Linked DNA regions of Homo sapiens: regions 2 and 3 are each linked to region 1. Evidence: promoter capture Hi-C in human tissues and cell types (Jung and others, 2019). All regions are on one chromosome and are shown on one strand. The core of a region is centred on a gene start or on the middle of the fragment in contact, and the rest is flanking DNA. Distances in the headings are between cores, read along the strand shown. Region 1 holds the start of STOML2 (stomatin like 2). Region 2 overlaps UNC13B (unc-13 homolog B). Region 3 overlaps UNC13B (unc-13 homolog B).

Evidence for each region. The method cuts DNA at HindIII sites, captures the fragments that hold promoters and counts their contacts. A contact is called where the count stands out against the background at its distance.
Region 2: a contact is called between a fragment that was not itself captured here and the fragment with the promoter of STOML2 in region 1, in 1 of the 25 tissues and cell types used here (mesenchymal stem cells).
Region 3: a fragment that was not itself captured here is called in contact with the fragment with the promoter of STOML2 in region 1 in 1 of the 25 tissues and cell types used here (mesendoderm cells).

The regions. Positions count from the first base shown.
Region 1 is chr9:35,101,289-35,104,609 of GRCh38, reverse strand. STOML2 (stomatin like 2) reads left to right here and starts at 1,479. Exons shown (of 10, transcript NM_013442.3): 1 at 1,479-1,560; 2 at 1,787-1,924; 3 at 2,416-2,515; 4 at 2,648-2,706; 5 at 2,799-2,900; 6 at 3,050-3,184. The coding sequence starts at 1,516. ATOSB (atos homolog B) reads left to right here. Exons shown (of 9, transcript NM_025182.4): 9 at 1-493. It also overlaps a transcript of PIGO-AS1 not described here. RefSeq lists enhancers at 1,212-1,261, 1,382-1,431, 1,442-1,711, 1,842-2,101. The HindIII fragment of the contact is 4,892 bases long and covers 1,402-3,321 here.
Region 2 is chr9:35,317,719-35,321,039 of GRCh38, reverse strand. All of the region lies in intron 11 of UNC13B (unc-13 homolog B), which reads right to left. Among named protein-coding and RNA genes, the nearest start is that of UNC13B, 160 kb to the right of the region's middle. The HindIII fragment of the contact is 3,105 bases long and covers 125-3,229 here.
Region 3 is chr9:35,243,515-35,246,835 of GRCh38, reverse strand. All of the region lies in intron 6 of UNC13B (unc-13 homolog B), which reads right to left. Among named protein-coding and RNA genes, the nearest start is that of UNC13B, 83 kb to the right of the region's middle. The HindIII fragment of the contact is 7,349 bases long and covers 1-3,321 here.

The sequences.
Region 1 (3,321 bases), core at 230-2,729:
AGCCAAGTTATGCGTATGTGTGTGTGCACAAGCTTGTCTTTGTGTGGTATGTGTGTGTGAGTGTGCATGTATGCACACACACAGGGGTTAACCACCCCTCACCTAGGGCTCCAGACTCCAGTTGTCCCTCTCCTCCTACCTGTGTCTCCTTGTTTTGGGGTCCTGACTGAAGAAGGTGTCCAGGGGGCAGAGTCAGGGCCAAGCACTGGGGTGCCTCCTCTCACCTGGCCAGACTCTGACCCACCTACCTCAGCTGGGGTGAGGGGCACCCCTCAAACTCAGTCATGTGGTTCCAAACTACCCCATTCCCCACTCCAGACTCTGACCCAGCCTCAGTCCTAACTCCTGGGGCTGGGCTGAGGGGAACAAGCATTTGCTGAAACTTGAAAAAACAAAGCAAATCAAAAACAGGAAAAAATTGTACCTGGTACTTTTTTTTAGAAAAAAAGATTAAAAAAGAAAGAATAAATTCTTGTTTGGAAACTTGAACTAAGCTCTACTTTTGTTGTTGTTGTTGTTGTTGGGGAGAGGGTGTGAAGGGGGATGGAGGGCCTTCCTGGAGCTGGGACTCAGCCCTTTCTACCAGAGAGGCAACAGGCCTGGGCCCATGAGGTCTTAGGCTAGTCCCTGCTGATTCCTGGGGCCTGGTTTTTCTCCTTTCGGAGGGGTTGGTGGGTAAAGTTCAGCCGTAGAAGCTGAACTCTGAATTGTAGATCAGGATTCTAATACTGGTTCTATTAATGACTTTAGCCCCTCAGAACTTCAGTGCCCTCATATGTAAAATGGAGGTGACTACGGAGGTCTCTTGACTACCAGAGCATTAGGGATGTGGGCAAGGTGACATGCTCCAGACAAGGTTGAACGTTGAGGCTGTTTGCTGGACTGTATTTAAGACCGGGCATAACAAACCTTGCTTGGGAAGACAGGGAAGGAGCTGCAGTGTCTTTGAGGAAAGAGGGGAGGGGAAAATCTCGGCCCAATCGCCAGGCAATATTAGGCCCAGTTTCCATGGCAACGGGATTGGGGTCAGTCCCCAGTGGGAGTCCTGGGCACAACACAGCGGGACTACCAGAGAATATCACTATGGCAACCATGGCAACGAGTCAGCTCCAATCCACTAGTCGCTATGGTGACAGATGGGGGCGATACTACGCTCTGGTGGGCAAACTGAGTCTCGGGTGAGGACGAATAATTCAGTGCGTGGTGTCTGAGTGATAATGCCCGCGAAAAATAGCCTCCATTTTGGCCATCAGGCCGGGGATCTTCGGCGTGAACAGCTAAACCCAGAACAACCACAGCCTTCGCCCTTCTCTAGAAGGTCTGCGTTTCCCAGGGAACAACTTGACGCGCCGTTCGACCAAGTAACGCTGATTGGGTGAGTGTTGAAGCGGGGGAGGGAGCTGCCGGAAGTACATCCGGGGGAGCGGAACTGCAAGAGGAAAGGCTCGGGTAGGCTTCTGGGAGCGACCGCTCCGCTCGTCTCGTTGGTTCCGGAGGTCGCTGCGGCGGTGGGAAATGCTGGCGCGCGCGGCGCGGGGCACTGGGGCCCTTTTGCTGAGGGTGAGAGCGAGGCAACCTTTCCAGAGGGTCAGGACAGAGATTACCTGGGTTCTCCGCTGGAAAAGAGCGAAATTCCAACTTTTGGAGAGGACTGGGGTCAGAGGTCATGGTCCCCATGTGATTCTCCGAGGATCCTGAGGGTCGTGGTTTATGGAGATGCCTTCAGGACCGAGGGGCGGCGTGTCTGGCCAGATGGGATCTCTGCTCACCCTCTTCTTTCCTTCAGGGCTCTCTACTGGCTTCTGGCCGCGCTCCGCGCCGCGCCTCCTCTGGATTGCCCCGAAACACCGTGGTACTGTTCGTGCCGCAGCAGGAGGCCTGGGTGGTGGAGCGAATGGGCCGATTCCACCGGATCCTGGAGCCTGTGAGAAACCTCTTCTGCCCACCCTGGGCCAGCCAGATGACCAATCCCTCACGACATGCAATGTCGGGAGGACTTCCTTTGGGCCTGCCCGCACTGTTAGCTCCCGACTCTGTAGGCCAGACCTGACAGGGCCCAGGCTGCTGACCATCATCCCCATGTTACCACCTTTTCCTATGCATCTCACAGGCCCCATTCTTGGGAATCTCCCCTGCCCACTCTCAGCCCTACCTCTCAGTCTGCATAGAGATGGCTATTCTGCTGGCTCCGATTCTCATGACTCTCCCCTCCATTCAGGGGCCTAGTCTTGCATTCCTGTTCTCTTGGGTTTTCTTACCAGTGACACCTCAGCCTTCTGAGGACTTATTTCTTGGTAGGAGCTGCTGCTTTTCTGGGCATGTTCCATGTGTTGACTCCCTACATACTCCAGGACTAGCTTAGGTCCCAACCCAATAGTTCCCAGCCTTCTGAGGACCCATGACTCCTCTTTCCAGGGTTTGAACATCCTCATCCCTGTGTTAGACCGGATCCGATATGTGCAGAGTCTCAAGGAAATTGTCATCAACGTGCCTGAGCAGTCGGCTGTGACTCTCGGTGAGGGGTTCAGGGTGACATGGGTGCTCTGAGGCTATTAGGATGTGGTTGCTGTAGATCCAGAGCTTAGTAGAAAGAACTGGTTGGGACCTAGAGGCCTGACTTTCCCCGTTTTCTCTCCTGGTTCTACAGACAATGTAACTCTGCAAATCGATGGAGTCCTTTACCTGCGCATCATGGACCCTTACAAGGTACCTGTCCCCTACTTTATCCAGCCTTTTGAGTTGCCCTCTTCACTAAAATCTTGTGCCCAAGCTTCTTACACTATCCGTGTCCATCTCAGGCAAGCTACGGTGTGGAGGACCCTGAGTATGCCGTCACCCAGCTAGCTCAAACAACCATGAGATCAGAGCTCGGCAAACTCTCTCTGGACAAAGTCTTCCGGGTAAGCAGATCTGAGCCAGAGTTAGGGTTTGAAGACACAAACCTGACACTCTTAATCTTTTCTGAAGGTCAAGATCAGTCCCAGGCCCTTCTCAGTGTAGGCCCTTGATAGGTAGGTTGAGGCTGTGGGGCTTACACCTCTTTTTCCAGGAACGGGAGTCCCTGAATGCCAGCATTGTGGATGCCATCAACCAAGCTGCTGACTGCTGGGGTATCCGCTGCCTCCGTTATGAGATCAAGGATATCCATGTGCCACCCCGGGTGAAAGAGTCTATGCAGATGCAGGTGGGGGCCAAGGAGGGGTGGGAAAAGGGCCTCAGGGTGCTCCAGTACCAGGAGGATCCAGACTTCCCTCCTGTTATGATGGGTAGAGTTGCATGTCTGTATCAGTCTCCCTTGGCTTGTTGATTGGGATTGTTGTG
Region 2 (3,321 bases), core at 428-2,927, 220 kb before region 1:
TATAAAGCTTATATAAGAAAATATAGCTAATGTTAATAGTTAATATTCTGCTATTATTGACTTTAAGTGCTGGGCCTTGGGAATAATTAAAAATAGTATTAATTAGAAGATAAAGAAGCACATGGAGACTTCTGTGGAAATAATGCGGGGCATCTCTGGCTGGTTAAGCATCCACAAAAGGTTAGCTAAACACACTTTGCCAGATTCCATACTGGGCTCTTGAATATCAGCCTTAAAAAGCTTAGCCTGACATTAAAGGATCTTACAAGAAGTACACAGAAAAGTAAGACATAGCAGTAAACAAGTAACTCCATTACATCATCATGCAGTAGAAAAAAATATGCAAAGAGTCTAGAAACTTTACCCCAAAACTGACAGCTGACTGGGTTTTAAAAGATGTGAATGAAAAGTTAGCTAAGTGAATTAAGAGAAAGAGCATTCTAAGCATGGGAAACAGCAAATATAAAGTCTCTGAGAATTTTTGAAATATAAATAATTCTATATGTTGGAAGCATTTCACCTAAACAGGATAGCAAAAAGAGCCTAGCAGATAAGTGAAAATCCAAAAGTTTGATACATTACTGATGGGTTAGGAAAGAGAAAACCACTCTTAAGACATTACTAGTGGGAGTATAAATTGGTACACTCCCTATGGGAAGCATATACTTTTGGGGGTAGGCATTAAAGCCATTGACAAATATCCTTCTCTATCTCTTTAAAAGTATGTCATACTGCTCCACTTTAATTAAAACAGAGCTAGCATTCAACCCAGCAATCCCATTACTGGGTATATAATGAAAAGAAAACAAATTGTTCTACCAAAAAAACACATACCCTCATATATTCATCGCAGCATTATTCACAATAGCAGAGACATCAAATCAACCTAGGTACCCATCAACAGTGGACTGGATAAAGAAAATGTGGTACATATGCATCATGGAATACTATGCAGCCATAAAAAACAGTGAAATGTCCTTTGCAACAACATGGATGCAGTTGGAGGCCATAATTTTAAGCAAATTAATGCAGGAACAGAAAACCATATATTGCATATTCTCATTTATAAATGGGAGCTAGGGGCCAGGCCTATAATCATGCCTGTAATCCCAGCACTTTGGGAGTCTGAGACAAGAGGATTGCTTGAGGCCAGGAGTTCAAGACCAGCCTAGGAAACATAATGAGACCCTATCTCTACACAAGAATTTTTTAATTTGCTGGGCATAAGTGGCACATGCCTGTGGTCCCAGCTACTTGGGAGGCTGAGGTGAAGGGTTGCTTGAGCCCAGGAGTTAAGGTTGCAGTGAGCTGTGATCATGCCCGTGCACTCCAGCCTGGGTGACAGAGTGAGACCCCATCTCAAAAAAATAAAATTAAAAAAAAAAGTTTTAAAAAATGAGTGGCATCTAAACATTGGGTACTCATAAATATGGGAACAATAGACACTGTAGACTACTAGAGGGAGGAAGGAGGAAGATGGCAGGGATTGAAAAACTACCTGAGTACTATGTTCACTACATGGGTGACAGGATCTATACCCCAAATCTCAGCATCATGCAAAATACCTATGTAACAAACCTGCACAGGTATCCCCTGTATCTAATTTTTTTTTTTTTTTTTTTTTTTTTTTTTTTTTTGAGATAGGGTCTCACTCTGTCACCTAGGTTGGAGTGCAGTGGCATGAGCTTGGCCCACTGCAACCTCTGCTTCCCGGGTTCAGGCAATTCTCCTGCCTCAGCCTCCCAAGTAGCTGGGATTACAGGTATGCACCACCACACCCGGCTAATTTTTGTATTTTTGGTAAGGATGAGGGTTTCACCATGTTGGCCAGGCTGGTCTCAAACTCCTGCTGGGATTACAGGCATAAGCCACTGCACTCAGCCCTCTGTATCTAAAATATTAATAGAAGTTGAAATTATTTTTAAAAAGTTAAGTTTGGTTTCATGATTTCCTTTAGCTAGGAAAATATGAGCAAAAGCAACATATGTATTAATAACTTCTGGGTAGAAGTTTTAAGAGCCAAAGTACAACTTGCTATATTTTCTTTCACTTGTTATCTTTCCCTTCCTTTTACCATTGTGACTGGCAGTGTTCCAGGTGTTGGTTGCTCCATCAGCCTGGATTGCAGAGAGAAGACAACTTTAAAGCAAAACTCCTTGATGTGGAATACGAGCAAGAAACAAGCCCTTGTTATTTTAAGCCATAGACAAATGGATGGCAATTTGGCAATATTTATCAAAATTATAAATGCATATCCCCTTGGTATACCTGCACACATGCAAAATGACATATGTACAAGGTTATTCATTTGTAACATGGTTAACAGCAAATGACTGGAAACAACCAAATGAACATCAACAAAGGACTAAATACTTGCAGAACAAATATTTCATTCAATGGAATATTACGCAGCTATAAAAAAGAATGAAAAATTTTCTTAGAGCTGATATGGAAGGATCTCCAAATACAAAATCAAGAAATGCTTGGTATGTATAATATACCATCTTTTGTATAAAAACGGGTAAAGAAGCATTAGTATATTCATATTTGCTTGTACTTGTAGACAGATATTCTAGAACGATAAATAGGAAACTAACAAGATTATCTTGAGTGGAGGGTGAAGGAGTGATTGGGGTGGCGGGGCGGCAGCGGGGCAAAAAAATCCTTGGTGTTGTGCTTAACTTCTTTCTCTCACATAACTTCAACCAATATGTTACTAAATCTCATCTTAAGTACAAATGGTACATTTCTGCTTCAATCTTAAACTGTTATCAGAACCCTCTTTAAACTCTGGCTTCTTGTTCTCCTCTTGGACATTTCTAATCAGTTGCCAGTTACTTTACCTGTGTTAAGAATATCTTTACTATTGTTCTCTTATTCAATTAAGTTCTTAGTTACTCTTAGGTAAACCATGCCTCTGTCTGTATGATTCCAAGCTTTGGCAACTGTTTTCAGCTAGTCTTTTTGAGAGACTGAATTATTATACTTCTGAAAAAGAAAAGGCCATAACTTAAACTGTGTCTTCTCCAATATATTCTTATTTTTCTAATTCAGAGCTTTCCTTTTACATGGATAAGGCTAATTACTTTGCTTTGCTTTATAGGAAGAATTACAAGACCCTTACTTTTAAAAAACTTAGAAATAAAAAATCAGTAAGTATTATGACATTCATTCCATAAATGTTCATTTTAAATGCTTGTTTAGGCCAGGCGTGGTGGCTCATGCCTGTAATCCCAGCATTTTGGGAGGCTGAGCCAGGTGGATCACTTGAGGTCAGGAGTTTGAGACCAGCCTGGCCAACATGGTAAAACCCCATCTCTA
Region 3 (3,321 bases), core at 591-3,090, 140 kb before region 1:
GCCCACATTGCCAAGTCAATCCTAAGCCAAAAGAACAAAGCTGGAGGCATCATGCTACCTGACTTCAAACTATATTACAAGGCTACGGTAATTAAAACAGCATGGTACTGGTACCAAAACAGAGATATAGATCAATGGAACAAAACAGAGCCCTCAGAAGTAATACCACACATCTACAACCATCTGATCTTTGACAAACCTGACAAACACAAGAAATGGGAAAAGGATTCCCTATTCAACAAATGGTGCTGGGAAAACTGGCTAGCCATATGTAGAAAGCTGAAACTGGATCCCTTCCTTACACCTTATACAAAAATTAATTCAAGATGGATTAAAGACTTAAATGTTAGACCTAAAATCATAAAAACCCTAGAAGAAAACCTAGGCGATACCATTCAGGACATAGGCATGGGCAAGGACTTCATGACTAAAACACCAAAAGCAATAGCAACAAAAGCCAAAATTGACAAATGGGATCTAATTAAACTAAAGAGCTTCTGCACAGCAAAAGAAACTACCATCAGAGTCAACAGGCAACCTACAGAATGGGAGAAAATTTTTGCAATCTACTCCTCTGACAAAGGGCTAATATCCAGAATCTACAATGAACTCAAACAAATTTACAAGAAAAAAAAAACAACCCCATCAACAAGTGGGCAAAGGACATGAACAGGCACTTCTCAAAAGAAGACATTTATGCAGCCAACAGACACATGAAAAAATGCTCATCATCACTGGCCATCAGAGAAATGCAAATCAAAACCACAATGACATACCATCTCACACCAGTTAGAATGGCGATCATTAAAAAGTCAGGAAACAACAGGTGCTGGAGAGGATGTGGAGAAATAGGAACACTTTTACACTGTTGGTGGGACTGGAAACTGGTTCAACCATTGTGGAATACAGTGTGGCGATTCCTCAGGGATCTAGAACTAGAAATACCATCTGACTCAGCCATCCCATTACTGGGTATAGACCCAAAGGATTATAAATCATGCTGCTATAAAGACACATGCATGCGTATGTTTATTGCGGCACTATTCACAATAGCAAAGACCTGGAACCAACCCAAATGTCCAACAATGATAGACTGGATTAAGAAAATGTGGCACATATACACCATGGAATACTATACAGCCATAAAAAATGATGAGTTCATGTCCTTTGTAGGGACATGGATGAAGCTGGAAACCATCATTCTCAGCAAACTATCACCAAGGACAAAAAACCAAACATCGCATGTTCTCACTCACAGGTGGGAATTGAACAATGAGAACACTTGGACACAGGAAGGGGAACATCACACACTGGGGCCTGTTGTGGGGTGGGGGGAGGGGGGGAGGGATAGCATTAGGAGATATACCTAATGTAAATGACGAGTTAATGGGTGCAGCACACCAACATGGCACATGTATACATATGTAACAAACCTGCACATTGTGCACATGTACCCTAAAACTTAAAGTATAAAAATAATAAAATTAAAAAAAAAAAACAGAAAGCAAAAATCTGATATGCAGTTGGGAACCACAGACCAAGAACCATTATTATTAGAACTTATAAAATTCCACAATTTTTGTATAAGTTATATTTGGTTTTTAAATTGTTTTAATCCCTTCTTCTGATTCTGTATAATGACACAGAGCAAAGCCTATAAAACGAAAAGTACAACATGCTTCTTTACTAGGAAAACAAAGATGATGGCAGTCTGAAAGGCTGAATACCACTCCACAGCCAGGCTTGGGAAGAACGAAAACACAAAGTAAAGTACATGCAAAGATAGCACAAATGCTCAGAGTTACTAAGTGGAGAAAGAGGACTGGAGCTTTCAACAATGAAGAAAAGTTAGGATGTTGGTGTGGACATGAGAAGAGTTATACAGCTTAATAACAGAAAGCCTACCAAGAATAAAGGAGGTAACGGAAAACCCTGAAAAGAGTAGATGTTGCTTGTCCCAAATGCCATTTCTTCATCTTTCATTTAACTCACTGTGGGTTGAACTATGTCCTAAAAGATATGTTAGACTTCTAACCCTAAGTATCTGTGAATATGACCTTATTTGGAAACAAGGTCTCTGCAGATATAATCAAATTAATTCAATGACTGTTGTTCTTACAAGAAAAATGGAAATTTAGACACAGACACACAGAGACAGGAGAATGCATTGTGAAGACACAGACAGACACACAGGGAGGCACATTACAACAGAGGCAGAGATTAGAATGATACATCTACAAGCTAAGGAACAGCAAGGACTGCCAGCAACCATCAGAGGCAGAAGAGTACAGGATGCTTCCTCCTTCAGAGCCTCTAGACGGAGCTGAACTGATCCTGCTGACAGCCTAATTTCAGACTTCCAGTCTACAGAACTGTGTGAAAACAAATTTTGGTTGCTGTAAGCCACCTAGTTTGTGGTACTTTGTGATGGCAGCTGTAGGAAACAAATACAGTCATCAAACCACTGCATTTTGGCTTTCTGTACTAGTCTATGGATGTATACTCGTCATCAATCACCAAATCCAATAGCTCTATTTCATAATTCACTTGATTTAACATGTGATACTGTCAAGAATTTCTGCCTTGAATCTCTTTTTTTCTTTGTTCCATTAATCTTTCCTGGTTATCTTATTCTCTCTCTTTAAGGTTGCCCTTTCTCAGTCTCCTTTGTTTCTCAGAATTCTATGTCTAAGGTTTCCCAAGATTTTGTTCCTGTTCTTTAATACTGTCTCCATACGCTCTACCTGAGCAAGTTTTTCCATTCCTATGACTTCAATTGTTACTAATATATTAATGAAGCTCTATGCCTACAGCTCCCTACCCATTCAAACCTCAACTTCAAATTATCTCATGAAATTGTTTATCAACAATTTCTGCTGAAATATCCTCTGGCACTCAAAGTATATCTTATAATCAGACCCATTTTTTAGTAGCCCACATGTCCAAAATAAACAAATTTATCATCTTTTCCCTCCATCAGCAATAACAAAAACATTCTCCAATCCTGATGCCCCAGGTTGAGCTGAATGCATTCTCTTATACACACCAGCCTCATCTCTGGAGGTAAGTTAGGACCAGCAAGAACAAACAATGCAATAGTCTAAACATCCTCAAAAACAGGACACAAATAAGAATAATATCCAAAAAACTGAGAGACAGTAGAAGCAAAAGAAATGCCTCCAACTCACAGGTGTAACAAAAGAGGACAGATTCCCTGGTACAAGCTCCCTCTCTAAGAGTCTACAGCCAGACTAGTACCACAGTATGGGAGAGTGGGAAGAACAGAATAAATTGGAGATGGAACCTTCTAGTGACATTTCA